Linked DNA regions of Homo sapiens: region 2 is linked to region 1. The links are contacts of gene promoters, found by promoter capture Hi-C in human tissues and cell types (Jung and others, 2019). All regions are on one chromosome and are shown on one strand. The core of a region is centred on a gene start or on the middle of the fragment in contact, and the rest is flanking DNA. Distances in the headings are between cores, read along the strand shown.

The links. The method cuts DNA at HindIII sites, captures the fragments that hold promoters and counts their contacts. A contact is called where the count stands out against the background at its distance.
Region 2: a contact is called between a fragment that was not itself captured here and the fragment with the promoter of CRH in region 1, in 1 of the 25 tissues and cell types used here (hippocampus).

Annotation. Positions count from the first base shown.
Region 1 is chr8:66,176,445-66,179,982 of GRCh38, reverse strand. It overlaps CRH (corticotropin releasing hormone), which reads left to right and starts at 1,519. Exons shown (of 2, transcript NM_000756.4): 1 at 1,519-1,690; 2 at 2,492-3,538. The coding sequence starts at 2,506. The coding sequence ends at 3,096. LOC112268029 (a long non-coding RNA gene) reads left to right here. Exons shown (of 4, transcript XR_002956713.2): 4 at 23-97. RefSeq lists an enhancer at 2,564-2,633. The HindIII fragment of the contact is 9,798 bases long and covers 1-3,538 here.
Region 2 is chr8:66,375,891-66,379,447 of GRCh38, reverse strand. All of the region lies in intron 1 of LOC102724687 (a long non-coding RNA gene), which reads left to right. Among named protein-coding and RNA genes, the nearest start is that of RRS1-DT, 51 kb to the left of the region's middle. The HindIII fragment of the contact is 3,476 bases long and covers 307-3,557 here.

The DNA of each region.
Region 1 (3,538 bases), core at 270-2,769:
TTCCCTTTGTTCCTAAGAGCAGTTGTGGATTGGTATAGACCCAAAATGGAAGTTGAAATATGCATTGCATCATTTGTCACATTAGCTACAAAGGAAGCAGCAGAAGTAATCAGAAATGAGGAGCAGGAAATTTCCGATAAACAACTCTGATGGTTATCTGGAAGCTGAATTGAATCACAGGCACAAGAACTTGGAATTGCATTTTGAATTGCAGAATTAGAGGTAACTGCCTCCCACCTATATGATAGTGTCAATTAATCAAAAATTGAATATAGTTTTACAGGCTTAGCATTCCATTCCATTCTGCGACATGTCAGAGAGCATTTATTTATTTAACAGGCTGACATGAAGCACATTTGGATTTGGAAAAAGAAATAATTAAAAAGAACCACCCTGGGTGGCCCAGATGTGGATACTATTATGGATGTTGATAGTATTTGGAGGTGAAATGAACGAGTTTTTTTTTACAGACTCAATATTGACCAATGAAAACATGTAACTAATGAATTTAGCCCTGTAGTCAAGCAGTTTAAGCCTTTTTCAACATAGATTAGGAAGTTAGAATGGATGCCTCTCATTGAGTTTGCATTCAGTAGAATAAGTAAAGCTTGTTTAACTCATGCATCTCTCACTGGCCGCCTCTCTCTTTAATTTGGGAATAGAAAAGGGAGTCCACAATTAATTTTAGATTGTGAGAAGAGAGACAAAAAAAGGAGCAGAGAGTTTCTGAGATAACCTAAAATCTTTGCCGCACCCCTTACTAACCCCGGTTTGTGCCCCTTCACTATGGGAGTAGCTCTTGTCATCATCTAAAAAACTTGAACTGCATTTTGAGAGATTTATTGGCCTTGCTTCTGCAGGCTCATAACTCCTTTATGTGCTTGCTCTTGGGAGGAAAAAGCAGATAGACGTTTAAAAGCTGGATGTTCCTGCACACCCCTCTCCTGATGCTTCATTCTTTTCCAGGCAGAAAGATGGTGGGACTCTGTCTCTAGCAAAGGGATATTTCCAGATACTGAGGTGTTGTCAGAGACACCTGGTCAGGGAGGTTAGGAGAAGGGGCATCCAGGTCCACCCCCTCCAACTGGCTGCTGCTTTCCTGGCAGGGCTGCACTGGGACACCTCACTTCCTTCCCACTTCCCCTTCCTCCTCCCATTCGCTGTCTCTTTGCACACCCCTAATATGGCCTTTCATAGTAAGAGGTCAATATGTTTTCACACTTGGGAAATCTCATTCAAGAATTTTTGTCAATGGACAAGTCATAAGAAGCCCTTCCATTTTAGGGCTCGTTGACGTCACCAAGAGGCGATAAATATCTGTTGATATAATTGGATGTGAGATTCAGTGTTGAGATAGCAAAATTCTGCCCCTCGTTCCTTGGCAGGGCCCTATGATTTATGCAGGAGCAGAGGCAGCACGCAATCGAGCTGTCAAGAGAGCGTCAGCTTATTAGGCAAATGCTGCGTGGTTTTTGAAGAGGGTCGACACTATAAAATCCCACTCCAGGCTCTGGAGTGGAGAAACTCAGAGACCAAGTCCATTGAGAGACTGAGGGGAAAGAGAGGAGAGAAAGAAAAAGAGAGTGGGAACAGTAAAGAGAAAGGAAGACAACCTCCAGAGAAAGCCCCCGGAGACGTCTCTCTGCAGAGAGGCGGCAGCACCCGGCTCACCTGCGAAGCGCCTGGGAAGGTAGGGAGCGCCTGGACGGAACACGCCACCAACTTTGCGTTGCCTGAGCTGCCGCGATGTGCGCCGCGGAGCCGGCTGCCCCTGCCTGTGTACGTGTGTATGCATGTGTGTGCGTGCGTGTGTGTGTGTGTATGCATGTGTGTATGCGTATGTGTGTGTGTGTATGCGCGCGTGCGTGCGTGTGTGTGTGCGCGCGTGTTCGCGGACTATTCCTTAAGATTACAATAGTAGCTGGGATGTGGCAAAAGCAAACTTAGACGGCTGCTCTTCGTTACCCGTGCTGCCAGTTGCTCCTTGCTGGCTGTGTAAAGGAGCTCCCCCACCCCCTTCTATCCTAACCCCCGAGATAAGGCAGCAAGGGCAGAAGTGGAGAGGGAGGACCATGAGGCAGTAGTTCTCAATTTGGAAGAAAATGCTGAAATATCCGGAAGGGAGGTAGTCAGCGCGGGTGGGATCTTAAATCTGTGGCTCTTCTCTAGGATCGGGAAAATTAGTTTTGAGGATCGTTAGGAAGAGGACGCAGGGACCGTCCTTTCAGAGTCTAGAAAGAAGGGTCACTCCTGGCCGGTGAGCGCATGAGCTTAGGTGCGGAGCCCTGCAGGCGCCCCCTTTCCCCGCTCCCCAGGCGCTTCAGCACCGCGGACAGCGCCCATCCGAATCACTGAGGCCAAAGCCCAGCACGTCTAAGGCAGTCCCGTAGGAAGACCCCGTGTGCACCTCCCAGCTGAGCGAACTCTAACCAACTCTTTCTTTCTCTCTTCCCCTCTCTCATTCCGCCCTCCGCCCACCTCTGTGCCGCAGCGAGTGCCCCTAACATGCGGCTGCCGCTGCTTGTGTCCGCGGGAGTCCTGCTGGTGGCTCTCCTGCCCTGCCCGCCATGCAGGGCGCTCCTGAGCCGCGGGCCGGTCCCGGGAGCTCGGCAGGCGCCGCAGCACCCTCAGCCCTTGGATTTCTTCCAGCCGCCGCCGCAGTCCGAGCAGCCCCAGCAGCCGCAGGCTCGGCCGGTCCTGCTCCGCATGGGAGAGGAGTACTTCCTCCGCCTGGGGAACCTCAACAAGAGCCCGGCCGCTCCCCTTTCGCCCGCCTCCTCGCTCCTCGCCGGAGGCAGCGGCAGCCGCCCTTCGCCGGAACAGGCGACCGCCAACTTTTTCCGCGTGTTGCTGCAGCAGCTGCTGCTGCCTCGGCGCTCGCTCGACAGCCCCGCGGCTCTCGCGGAGCGCGGCGCTAGGAATGCCCTCGGCGGCCACCAGGAGGCACCGGAGAGAGAAAGGCGGTCCGAGGAGCCTCCCATCTCCCTGGATCTCACCTTCCACCTCCTCCGGGAAGTCTTGGAAATGGCCAGGGCCGAGCAGTTAGCACAGCAAGCTCACAGCAACAGGAAACTCATGGAGATTATTGGGAAATAAAACGGTGCGTTTGGCCAAAAAGAATCTGCATTTAGCACAAAAAAAATTTAAAAAAATACAGTATTCTGTACCATAGCGCTGCTCTTATGCCATTTGTTTATTTTTATATAGCTTGAAACATAGAGGGAGAGAGGGAGAGAGCCTATACCCCTTACTTAGCATGCACAAAGTGTATTCACGTGCAGCAGCAACACAATGTTATTCGTTTTGTCTACGTTTAGTTTCCGTTTCCAGGTGTTTATAGTGGTGTTTTAAAGAGAATGTAGACCTGTGAGAAAACGTTTTGTTTGAAAAAGCAGACAGAAGTCACTCAATTGTTTTTGTTGTGGTCTGAGCCAAAGAGAATGCCATTCTCTTGGGTGGGTAAGACTAAATCTGTAAGCTCTTTGAAACAACTTTCTCTTGTAAACGTTTCAGTAATAAAACATCTTTCCAGTCCTTG
Region 2 (3,557 bases), core at 795-3,294, 200 kb before region 1:
TGTCTGATTTTCTTAATTTTTCTCTAAGAATAGCTGATCTCAAAAGTATGAGGCCTACTAGTCCTTTAAAAATTTTAAAATATCATCTACTTGTCAAAATTCTACTTATGGAGAGCTGCATAAAGTGAAGAGTGAAAGGCAGTTCTTCCCCAGCCCCAGCCCCAGCCCCAGCCCCATTCCACTCTTCAGAATTAATAACTGTGGGCAGTCTGGTGGATATCTTTCTGGTCTTTTGAATGCAAATATTAATATGTAGCTGTATATTTTACATAAATGGGATTGTATCATATGGCCTTGCACCCAACTTTTTTGCATAGAATAATATTTGCAGCCCTTTTTCCTTGTTGAAACACGTGTACCTTATCCCTTTTACTCACTAAACAATATATACTGTTGTATAATATACATAATTCATTTAAACATGCTTGTATTGATGCACATTTACTTTGCGGTTTTTCAGATTACAAATGTCAAAGTGTGTCTGCCATCTCCTTGCATATGCATACATACACATGTTCTAGTAATTGTCCTAGAAGTGGAATTACGAGGTCAGAGGGAATCCATATTTAAATTCTGGTGCATTTCACAAATTTCATCCAAAGAGGTTTTACCTATTTATACTCCTTTACAAGCTTCTTTTAAATCAGATTGTCATTTCTTTGTGTCTGTTATTTTCCAGTGCATCTTGTCTTGTGGCTGTTTGAGAGAAGCCTTGTCAAAGACCCTTTATGGAATCACTTCCCTGAAGAAACAAGTTCCTGCGGGGGCAGGAGCTCAGGCCATTGCTGGCGGTGCTCCTGCCACTGCGACATCTGCTACCCGCACAGCTTGTATTCATTATACTGATGTGACAGGTTATCTGGGCAGGGGGAGCAGAGCAGAGGAACAGGGCAGAGACCCGATGGCTCGCCTTGTGAATATTTAAAAGCCATTTAAATAGATTTCTTTTTATCCCCTAATTTCCTATTGATGACAGCCCTGAAACTACTTATCTCATTTTTCAAATCAAAGCTTCCTAAAGCAAAATGGCTTGGAGACTGAACAGCTCTTGAAGCTCTGTTAATGACAGGATGGGGGTGAGAAGACCAATAAATTGTTTAGGGAGTGGAAAAGTACTTCAGACTTCAAACCCCCTCTCCCTTCAGCCAACCTCTTCGCAGGCTGCGGCTCTGAGAGGGTGTCCTGGCACAGTCTGGAGCCTTGGTGCATGTCATCTCCCTCAGCTTTAGGAACCAGAGAGATGTGGGCTGGAATCTGGCCCCAGCTGTTGTTACCTGTATGACCTTGGGCAAGCAGCTTCACTTCTCTCTGTTTGCTGTCTGTAAAGCCTTTGGTGTCCCCTTTGAGTTAATCATATATGTCTGCCAGGGTCGTCTTTGGGATGAGTGATAATTCTTTGTTTGTCACTGGCAAATCATGTGCCAGTTTTATTCTTCATCTACTGTGGTAGCTGCTGAGTTTCCACAGAGTGGCATCGGGGCGCTCACTTTCACAAGTGGCATCTGGCTGATCACTTCCACAGAGTGGCGTCTGGGTGATTACTTCCACAGAGCAGTGTCTGGGGCGCTCACTTCCACAGAGCAGTGTCTTGGTGCTCACTTCCACAGGGCAGTGTCTGGTTATTCACTTCCACAGAGCGGTGTCTGGGGTGCTCACTTCCACAGAGTGGTGTCTGGGTGTTCACTTCCACAGAGCAGTGTCTGGGGTGCTCATTTCCACAGAGCAGTGTCTGGAGCGCTCACTTCCACAGGGCAGTGTCTGGTTGATCACTTCCACAGAGCAGTGTCTGGGGCACTCACTTCCACAGAGCGGTGTCTGGGTGATGACTTCCACAGAGCAGTATCTGGGCGCTTACTTCCACAGAGCAGTATCTGGGCGCTCACTTCCACAGGGCAGTGTCTGGTTGATCACTTCCACAGAGTGGTGTCTGGGGCGCTCACTTCCACAGAGCAGTGTCTGGGTGATCACTTCCACAGAGCAGTGTCTGGAGCGCTCACTTCCACAGGGCAGTGTCTGATTGATCACTTCCACAGAGCAGTGTCTGGGGCACTCACTTCCACAGAGTGGTGTCTGGGTGATCACTTCCACAGAGCAGTATCTGGGTGCTCACTTCCACAGGGCAGTGTCTGGTTGATCACTTCCACAGAGCAGTGACTGGGGCGCTCACTTCCACAGAGCAATGTCTGGGGTGCTCACTTCCACAGAGCAGTGTCTGGGTGATCACTTCCACAGAGCAGTGTCTGGGGCACTCACTTCCACAGAGCGGTGTCTGGGGCACTCAATTCCGCAGAGTGGTGTCTGAGTGATCACTTCCACAGAGCAATGTCTGGGGCGCTCACTTCCACAGAGCCGTGTCTGGGTGATCACTTCCACAGAGCAGTGTCTGGGGCACTCAATTCCGCAGAGTGGTGTCTGAGTGATCACTTCCACAGAGCAATGTCTGGGGCGCTCACTTCCACAGAGCCGTGTCTGGGTGATCACTTCCACAGAGCAGTGTCTGGGGCGCTCACTTCCACAGAGCAGTGTCTGGTTGATCACTTCCACAGAGCAGTGTCTGGGGCGCTCACTTCCACAGAGCAGTATCTGGAGCGCTCACTTCCACCGAGCAGTGTCTGGTTGATCACTTCCACAGAGCAGTGTCTGGGGCTCTCACTTCCACAGAGCAGTGTCTGGTGTGCTCATTTCCACAGAGCAGCGTCTGGGGTGATCATTTCCACAAAGCGGTGTCTGGGGTGCTGACTTCCACAGAGCGGTATGTGGGACTCTCACTTCCACAGAGCAGTGTCTGGTTGATCACTTCCACAGAGCAGTGTTTGGGGCGCTCACTTCCACAGGGCAGTGTCTGGGTGATCACTTCCACAGAGCAGTGTCTGGGTGATCACTTCCACAGAGCAGTGTCTGGGTGATCACTTCCACAGAGCGGTGTCTGGGGCGCTCACTTCCACAGAGCGGTGTCTGGGTGATCACTTCCACAGAGCAGTATCTGGGTGCTCACTTCCACAGGGCAGTGTCTGGTTGATCACTTCCACAGAGCAGTGTCTGGGGCGCTGACTTCCACAGAGCGGTGTCTGGGGTGCTCACTTCCACAGAGCAATGTCTGGGGCGCTCACTTCCACAGAGCAGTGTCTGGGTGATCACTTCCACAGAGCAGTGTCTGGGGCTCTCATTCCACAGAGCAGTGTCTGGTGTGCTCATTTCCACAGAGCAGCGTCTGGGGTGATCATTTCCACAAAGCGGTGTCTGGGGTGCTGACTTCCACAGAGTGGTATGTGGGACTCTCACTTCCACAGAGCAGTGTCTGGTTGATCACTTCCACAGAGCAGTGTTTGGGGCGCTCACTTCCACAGGGCAGTGTCTGGGTGATCACTTCCACAGAGCGGTTTCTGGGCTGCTCATTTCCACAAAGCGGTGGCTGGAATGATTGTATGGTGATGTTGTGTTGGCATGGTAGGTGTTGGAGCTTTGAGGCTGTGCCCCAGGGCTGTTTACACAAGACTGAAAAAACATCAATTACTCATTTCAAAGTCTGGGGGTGAGGTGGTGATGGACATTGAATG